3 separate regions of the Homo sapiens genome follow, and regions 2 and 3 are each linked to region 1. The links are contacts of gene promoters, found by promoter capture Hi-C in blood cells and fetal thymus (Javierre and others, 2016). All regions are on one chromosome and are shown on one strand. The core of a region is centred on a gene start or on the middle of the fragment in contact, and the rest is flanking DNA. Distances in the headings are between cores, read along the strand shown. Region 1 holds the start of LRP2BP (LRP2 binding protein). Region 2 has its middle 4.4 kb from the start of SLC25A4. Region 3 has its middle 10 kb from the start of LINC02436.

Region 1 (2,720 bases), core at 187-2,686:
CCTATGAGCGTTAGTCTTGAGGCACAAGTGCTCAATTAATGTCAATTTGTAATATAATAAACTGGAATAGACGTTAGTGGTTAATACTTTCTCATTTGTCGGCCTTTCTCTATTTCACATCACAGCTGCATGTGTATCACACACTGCCCCCAGACTGAACTACATATAGTGCTCTCAATACTGGAAGATATTTTACACTTCTTAGAAATACTCTTCCCTTCCTGGACTCCTTAGCAAACTCTTACTACTCAAGATTCAGCCCACACATCTCTCATCTATTCGGTCACTTACTCATCATCCAACGTTTTTTTTAACACTCGCTGTAAATGGCATCCTCGTTCTGGAAACGCATCTACCAGCAATTAAAACATGTAGAATTAGCACTGCTTAGGAGAACGCCTATAAAATATGCATCTTAGATCATCTTCCGTTTTAGAAAATTGATCCCACCTGCTACACGCCTGGTGAAACTCCAGTTACTTGCCAGTAAGATATTGTCCCCCAAATGTACTTATCCTGTTTTTGTGCATTATAAGCTTTGTTCAGTTTATAGTTTCTAGGCCCATTACTAAAGTCAAGTCAGATATCCAGCTGAGATACAACTTTTTTTTCTGAAAACAATGTGAGCAATGGACAGGTACGCTGTGATTAAAGGGAGAAAAGCTGTAACGACTCCCCAAATTTCCTTTCCTTATGAAATTTACGTATGTAACAGGAAGTTAAAAAATAACTACCACTTAATGCATACTGAACAGAATCTTGTTTCAAAGAAAAGATATGAAATATGGAGGCACTTTCACCACACAAATATCCCACTACATATGCTAACTGCAGTATTTATGTTCAAAACTGTAAGAACGTGTCTGATACCCTTTATTAGTTAGGAATTCCTGAAAATGAACTTCTGTGCAAACCTGAAGCTTCAACACGTGTTTTAAAAAGCAGTGCTTATTGAATTGATAAACAAAAGCGAAACTGGCAATATCAACGTGTGCTCACCTCACAAATCTGACAACAGTATCTCTACACTGCCGTTCTTTAAACATCATTAAAAGATATTGTGAATAGTTTAAATATTAAAAATGTGGAATATAAGAACGATTCTATATATTTGAACACACATTTATATTCAAATATTCATATGAATAAAAATGCTTAAAACTACCCCTTGGGTAACTAAGTATAACAACATAAACTTGCGATTGCAAATTTTATGGCTCTTACTACAAAACAAAAAGTAGAATGAAAAGACCACTTATCTTTAGAGGACAAGCATGAACTTGTTTTCTAACAGCATAACAATAAACGTATTTATTTCTCCGAGCTTTCAAAGGCATCAACAGAAGGGAATCACTAAAAATGTAGGGGAAAAGAAACACTCGGCTGGAGCTTTGGTTTCTAAGCAGATCCTTCTGGAAAGACGCTTAGGGAGAGTCTAGGGAGCAGCTCTGACGTCAGTAGCTGCCATCGGAAGTCAGGTCATGTTCTACAAAAAGCAGTGACGCACGCCCGACAGCACCCGCGGGGCCGGACAGCGGCTTCACCAGCCCCGCGGGTCCGAATCGCACGCGGCCGGGTCCGCTCTCCCGGGAGGAGAGCCCGGCGTGGACCAGCGTGACGACCCCAGCGTGCTGCGGCCTCTCCCCGAGGGCCCCTCCACAAGGGTCCCTGCGCGGGCCGGGCTCGGCCGTTGCCACTCGGGACAGCCATCCCCTCGAGTTCGCGCTCGCCGTCCCCGCCTTCACCTCCCGGGTTGGGAGGCGGGCGACTGCGCGCGAGGTAAAGGAACTTGCGTTCCCCGGCGCCGAGGCGGCAGCAGCGCAGTGCACAGCGGCTTCTGAAGGCGGCGTCGACGGGGAGCTGCGCGTGGCTCCCAGTTTCCTGGTTACGTGCGCGCCGGCAGAGCCAAAACCTGCAGCCGAAACTCCCGCTTCTCCGTAAGGATTAAAGGGCGGGCGCACTACCGGGAGACGTGTCAAACTCAGCGCGCCTCATGGCGGCCGCGGAGCCCCACCCGCTCCTACTCCAGTCCTCTCACGCCCACTGACTTACCCTGCGCACGCGCGCTGAGGCTCCGTGGGGCCGCCGCGGGCCCCGCCCCGAGGTGGGAGGGCCTGACGCATCCACAGCTGGCCAATCGGCGGATGGCCTCGCGCGCCCGCCCCCTCCCCCTGCCCCCGGCGCCGGGCTCCACGTGCCAGTGTTTGTGTACGTGCGGCCGTGGCGGGGCTGGACAGGGTCCGGGTCGTTGAGGATTAGGCTGCTCGGGCGTAACCGGAGCTGGGGCGCGGCTGCCAAGGGCCGGCCCGGAAGTCCCAGCGGTCTTTAAATTCTCCCGTGCTAGGGCCAGCCTGCGCATTCTTACCTGTCGGGGTGCGGCGAGTGTCTCACCTCTCTGCACTTCCAAGGACTCTTGTCATCTGCCTTAGGCGGGAAATGCTGTTGCTGGATTGCAACCCCGAGGTGAGATTCGGGCTCACAGAGCCCGAGCTTTTGTCCTGCAGGCTCAAGCTTCTAGATTCGTCTTCTCGTTAATGCGGGGACGGACCACTGGGCGCTGCCTGGTCAGAGCTGGTTGTGAAGGGCGGGGAGGTTTCCAGCCCGGAGGGGCGCGGGACTGGACAAAGGTGGGAAGGGTGCTGGATCTGTTCTCTTCCTGCAGGTGGATGGTCTGAAGCATTTGCTGGAGACAGGGGCCTCGGTCAACGCACCCCCGGATC
Region 2 (2,885 bases), core at 40-2,539, 260 kb before region 1:
TTCAAGGTCACACTTTCCTTTCTTCCAACCCTGAGGCTCTTCAGGCCTGGCTTGCTGTCAGCGGACTGTGGTGGCCTTGAAAAGGAAACGTTATTCTGCTGCTCCTGCGCCACATTGGAGACATTAAGAGCAGGAAAAGCTGAACGGGGCTCTCTAGGGACCTTCACTCCAGCAGGCTGCCTTCATTTTGCGGACTATGGACACAAGCAAATCCCTCAGGTACCAGGGATCTGTTCTCCGTCTCCCTCATTGCACTTGGATCAACCCTGCAAGGCTGCCTCTGCCCTGTGTGCTGAAACACCGCCCGGCCGTTTCTTCCCCTGCATCTGTGCCTCCCTGGGCTGCGCAGAATACAGGCCCCTCCTTCCCAGGGATCCACACGAGCCTCACATTCTTTGCTTTCTCTCTAACTTTCTTCCTTTCTCTCCAGGTTTGGGAAAACTTCATATAATCTTTGTAAGAGTAGCTGAGCAGGAAGTTTTTTGTTTTTATGGAGATGGAGTTTTCGCTCTTGTTGCCCAGGCTGGAGTGCAGTGGCGTGATCTCCGCTCACCACAGCCTCCGCCTCCCGGGTTCAAGTGATTCTCCTGCCTCAGCCTCCCGAGTAGCTGGGATTACAGGCATGCGCCACCACGCCCGGCTAATTTTGTATTTTTAGTAGAGACGGGGTTGCTCCATGTTGGTCAGGCTGGTCTCGAACTCCTGACCTCAGGTGATCCGCCCGCCTCGGCCTCCCAAAATGCTGGGATTACAGGCGTGAGCCACCGTGCCCGGCTGTGTGCAGAAAGCTTTTTGTTTTCCCTCAAGTATTCTACGAAGTCCACTGGGCTTGAGTTTTTTCTCTTCCTTTGGAAATTCTAATGCCGAGAATAGACTCTTACTTCCTCTGCTTCCTGAATGTTTTCTTTTTCCTGTGGCAGTGACACAGAACGTCTAGCTGACTATGAGGAAAGGGTCATGAGGTAAAAGAACGCATATGGAAGAAAACCCTTATTCATTAAAATAGCAAAATATTGTTCTTCAGTAGTACAGATGATAAAAAATAGTCTCTGATAACATTTGTTGCCTACTGATTTTAATAATAGAAATAAAGCATGTTTTTAAAAATGATTGATAGGATATGTGAAACACAAAACACTAGTTCAAAATGTGTTTAGAAAATGGACCCAGTCAGCTCCAGGTGAGTAACGGTTTTATTCACAGAGGTTGCCCGTGGGCAAAACTGGAAGATGCCAGCCTGGAAGGTGTGTGGTTATGGTCGGAAGGCATTATTATGCAAGCATAAACATTAGCTTCGTTGTGTTGTATGATACTCAATGTGCTTGTTGGACTCTTCAACAAAGTAAAGAGAGGTGCTAAGATTGGAAGTGGGAAAAGAAAGGTTCTGAATCTGTCTGGGAAGTGCACGGGGTCCGCCTGTGTCTATCAGGGGTGTGCTACGGGGGTCCCCCAGGCCTCCCTGCCTCCAGCAACCAAGAGGCCAACCTGAATCAGTTTCCCCCGGAAGCAGAGTGCCTTCTAGGAGAAGTCCCTCTGTCTTTTCTATGATTCAAGGGCTCCTCTGCCCCCTCAAATCACCTCCTTTAAATAATAAGGCGCCAAATCCTTCTAACAAAACTTTTTGTTTCACGAACATTCATAAAACGTAAAAAGTACAAGTTCCGGTGGAGGCAACACACTGAAAGTCACTCTGCTGGAAGTACAACCAGAACCCCCTCTTGGGTCCTTGTCCTTGCCAGGCTGCGTTGGAATTGCCTGTAGGCACCACAGCTATGTCTGTTCCTGGCATGTAAGCTTCTCCACATAGCCTGGGCAACATAGCAAAACCAGGAGACCACAGCAAAACCTGCAAATTAAAAAATATATATATCCGGGCATGATGGTATGTGCCTGTAGCCTCAGCTACTCAGGAGGCTGAAGCAGGAGGATCCCTTGTGCCTAGGAGTGCATGGTTTCAGTGATCTGTGATTGTGCCACCGTGCTCCAGCCAGGGTGACAAAGCAAGATGCTGTCTCTAAAATAAATAAATAAATAAATGCACATATAAATATCTTGATCCTCTTCGCTTAATGCTGAAACTTACCATGTGAACAAACACTAGTAGTGTGTTCTAATTCCTAATACTTTAAATGTACACTTGCACACAGGCATTATGTTATCACCACCATTAGCACATCCTTTATTGTTTTTCTTTATTCCTTGTCACTCTTACTCTTTAGCAACTTCCATTCTCTATTCCCAGTTTGGTAAGAGACTAAGTCTATAAGAGCTTCCACTAAAATTCCAAAAGGCTAACTTTCCACCCTGCTCTCATTTCTACATGGCCCTGTTCCCACCAGCATCTAAGATCCCATCCACGATTGAAAGTAGAGTTTCTTCTCATCTCCTAGATGCCTTGTCCATTCTCCTGCTGGAAGAAAGCCACTAAGTACTGGGTTGGGCGGGTGGACACATGTTCTGCCGAGCGCCATTCTCTCCCCTGCCTGTGTAAGTGATACCAGGATCTTGTGACCACAGGCAGCTCATGCTCCCGAGGGCATGTAAGGCCTCTCTTTTCTGAGAAAGTCCGTGGAAGCAGAGGACAGTGTATGAGTTTCCATGGAAAACCTCTTGTCAAGGATTCCAGCTATGACTCCTTCTATAGAACAGGATAACTGGAGAGTAGCCAAGGAGAAATATATCTCCCATTTAGAAAATATCCAAAACTCTGATTGGTAAAATTAAGTGTAACAAAGATGATACTACTTCCTGAATTCATATATTAATTAATATTTAATTTAGTTTAAATGTCTATTTAAAATCTTCTGGTGATGTTTAAACAATTGAACAACTTGATAGTAAAAATAAATCCAGACACATAAGCAGATAAAACTTTATTTTTTAAG
Region 3 (2,759 bases), core at 16-2,515, 350 kb before region 1:
AGACCCCATCGCTGCTCTTGATTCTTGACCATCTTTCTCATGTGTCCAAACTAAATTCCTAGACAGCTGGCTTAAAACTATAGTGCTTAAGTTTTCCAAACGTGTTTTTAAATATTCAGTGAAATTCTTTTGGAGAACAACTTAAATAGTACTTTAAAAATTAGGTTATAAACCACAGAGTAGTTTTTAAAATACATGAACTATAGACCTTTGTCACTGAGGAGAAAGAATGAGGGGTCCAGGGTCTATATTGTGAGTTTTCGGGACAGGGTAAGAAGTCACTCCCTGTGAGGACAGAGTGGCCACAGAGGAACAGAAGAGTATTTCCTACTGGGGAGAAATCACAAGGGACACTGGTCTTGCTTGCCATGTTGTCCTTTGAGTCTTAACCCGGGACACAGGAATCAATGGTTAGCATTAATGAGTCATCAACAGCTCTCATTCTGAGGCCTAACAGAAAGCTAAGCTGTGAAGCCGTGGATAACCACACACAGGGACTCGGGCTGCTGATGGGCTTGCCAGGGCTAGGGTGGGATGTGAGGTCTTACCTTTGCTCCTCCTCTATCTACAAGTATGTCTGAATCACAGATGAGCGTCTGAGAACGCATCTTGAAACAGCTGTCACCTCTCCTAGAGGGGCTCATTTTTGGCATTGGGAAAACAGATTTTGGTGAGTGGCCGCAATGTCTTACAAATTCCCTGAAGTTCAGGGCCTTTTCTTGGTTTGTGATCAGTGTTTCCCAAAGAATACAGCTCTCTCCTCATGTCACTTCAGGATGACATGAGGATGACCTTTAAAATATTGTGAGTCCTACTTGTAATGGAACAATGAGACGTGGAATCGTGAAAGGAACTAGGATAAATATGTGACTATGTAGAAATAAGCTACTAGCTCTGTTTTATGCCATTGACTTTTCTATGTCTGAACACTTTTTCAAGGACTTTATAGAAAAGCAAATTGAAAAATAATAAAGTGTTTTCAATAAACTCCATCAAATGAATACATGCATAAATTATGCATAATTATAAATTATGATATTTAATTTTCCTTAAAAATTATCTATTTGTTCTCCCAAACTATATTATAATTTATTCGTTAGAAAAGCATATATTTTCAAAGAAAAACTGTAGTAAAGAAGGACAGTACAACATATTACCTTAAAAAAAACTCTTTAAACGATGTAAGCTTTCTTACCTCTTTAAAAGGAAGTACATATATTCCTGGAGGAGGCATCTGAAGTTCCTTTCATCTAGATCTTCAAATTCTTTTTTCTACTGCCTGATAGTGTTTGGAAACCAAATTTTTATTTATCTTAAGTAACTTTTGAAGAAAAAAAGAATAAAGGAAGCTTTACTTATTTTCTAAATACTGATTTAATTCAGTTTTAATAAGAGGAATCTGAGTATTAGGTTCCAATTTTTATGTGAATTACATAAAATATTAAAATTACCAGAAACTCCAAATTACAGTGATCTTGAAGAATTTAGAACAACCCAAGAAGTCAACATAGCTGTAGGATGTATTTCATATCAATATACTGGGCAAAAATTAGATATTATGTGTTCCTTTTTCTGTAATGTTGATCCAACTAAGTGTCACAATGAGTTAAGTAAAGCTAAGTCATGCCAGTTTGCTGGGACTTGATTTCCTCTTCAATAAAATGAGGGGTTTCAGTTAGATGATTCTTAGTTTTCTCCCAAGAGCTAACAATTAGAACTCTGGCCAGGTGCAGTGGCTCAAGCCTGTAATCCCAGCACTTTGGGAGGCAGAGGTGGGCAGATCACTTGAGCCCAGGAGTTCAAGACCAGCCTGGGCAACATGGAGAAACCCCATCTCTACAAAAACACAAAACTTAGCTGGGTGTGGTGGCTTGTGCCTGTAGTCCCAGCTATTTGGAAGGCTGAGGCAGGAGGGTCACTTGCGCCCAGGACGTTGAGCTGCAGTGAGCCATGATGGCACCACTGTGCTCCAGCCTGGGCGACAGAGTGAGATCTTGTCTCAAAAAAAGAAAGAAAGAAAGAAAGAAAAAGTACTCTGGCAACACAAGCATCCACCCCCAGTAGTTCTATTAAACTACATGAAACATAAAGGATCTACATGCTTAAGGGGCCTAGATTGCTCCCTAATTTTAGAACTAGATAGGTCATACCAGTATATAGCTAAGCCCTTCAAAGAATATGGTAGTGAGGGGAGAGCTGATGGAATTTGAAATGTCCCTTGGTGATAGAAACTCACTTGACAGCAACATAAACAAAGACTTAATAAAACAAGTAGTAAATTCACAGGAAGGAAGAGTAGCCCTAAAATTTACAAGTCTAGTAAGTCCCACACTTTCTGGGTTGATGGCTATCTCCTCCTGGCATATAGCTCAGTAACATATACAGTATCTGACAAAGATGGCCTCTGTTAGGCTCTTCTCATGTGCTAGAAGTCCTTATTATTGACCATACCAACCACCAGTAGAATAACAGACACAATGGTAATCCCAGCTATTCATTCCCGCACTGTTGGCTCTCGCCATACACAGGTAAGAGGGCTATGCAGAATGATTCTCCAGTGGTCAGGATTCGGATCCAAGGATGTGCTTGCCAAATTCCCTTGTCATTATGGAACTGAGGTTCAGAAAAGGACTCATAAGTTCAAAGTTGTTGTGGCCTCTGGAAGAGCACAGGGGTCTTTCCCCACTCACCCCCTCCCTTTGGGAGGGATAGGTCGGGACATTGCCTTTCACTCTGGCCCCCAAGGCATTTTATCATTC

What was found. Contacts are between HindIII fragments. The CHiCAGO score rates a contact against its expected background, and 5 or more counts as called.
Region 2: a fragment that was not itself captured here is called in contact with the fragment with the promoter of LRP2BP in region 1 in 1 of 17 cell types (naive CD8 T cells); the score reaches 5.0 in naive CD8 T cells.
Region 3: a contact is called between a fragment that was not itself captured here and the fragment with the promoter of LRP2BP in region 1, in 1 of 17 cell types (megakaryocytes). The highest score is 5.0, in megakaryocytes.

The regions. Positions count from the first base shown.
Region 1 is chr4:185,394,488-185,397,207 of GRCh38, forward strand. It overlaps LRP2BP (LRP2 binding protein), which reads right to left and starts at 1,437. Exons shown (of 9, transcript NM_001377440.1): 1 at 292-1,437. It overlaps ANKRD37 (ankyrin repeat domain 37), which reads left to right and starts at 2,354. Exons shown (of 5, transcript NM_181726.4): 1 at 2,354-2,463; 2 at 2,663-2,720. The coding sequence starts at 2,437. RefSeq lists silencers at 1,560-1,749, 1,970-2,339 and an enhancer at 1,870-1,939. The HindIII fragment of the contact is 1,591 bases long and covers 919-2,509 here.
Region 2 is chr4:185,137,444-185,140,328 of GRCh38, forward strand. No RefSeq gene overlaps it. Among named protein-coding and RNA genes, the nearest start is that of SLC25A4, 4.4 kb to the right of the region's middle. The HindIII fragment of the contact is 1,006 bases long and covers 787-1,792 here.
Region 3 is chr4:185,040,257-185,043,015 of GRCh38, forward strand. No RefSeq gene overlaps it. Among named protein-coding and RNA genes, the nearest start is that of LINC02436, 10 kb to the right of the region's middle. The HindIII fragment of the contact is 163 bases long and covers 1,185-1,347 here.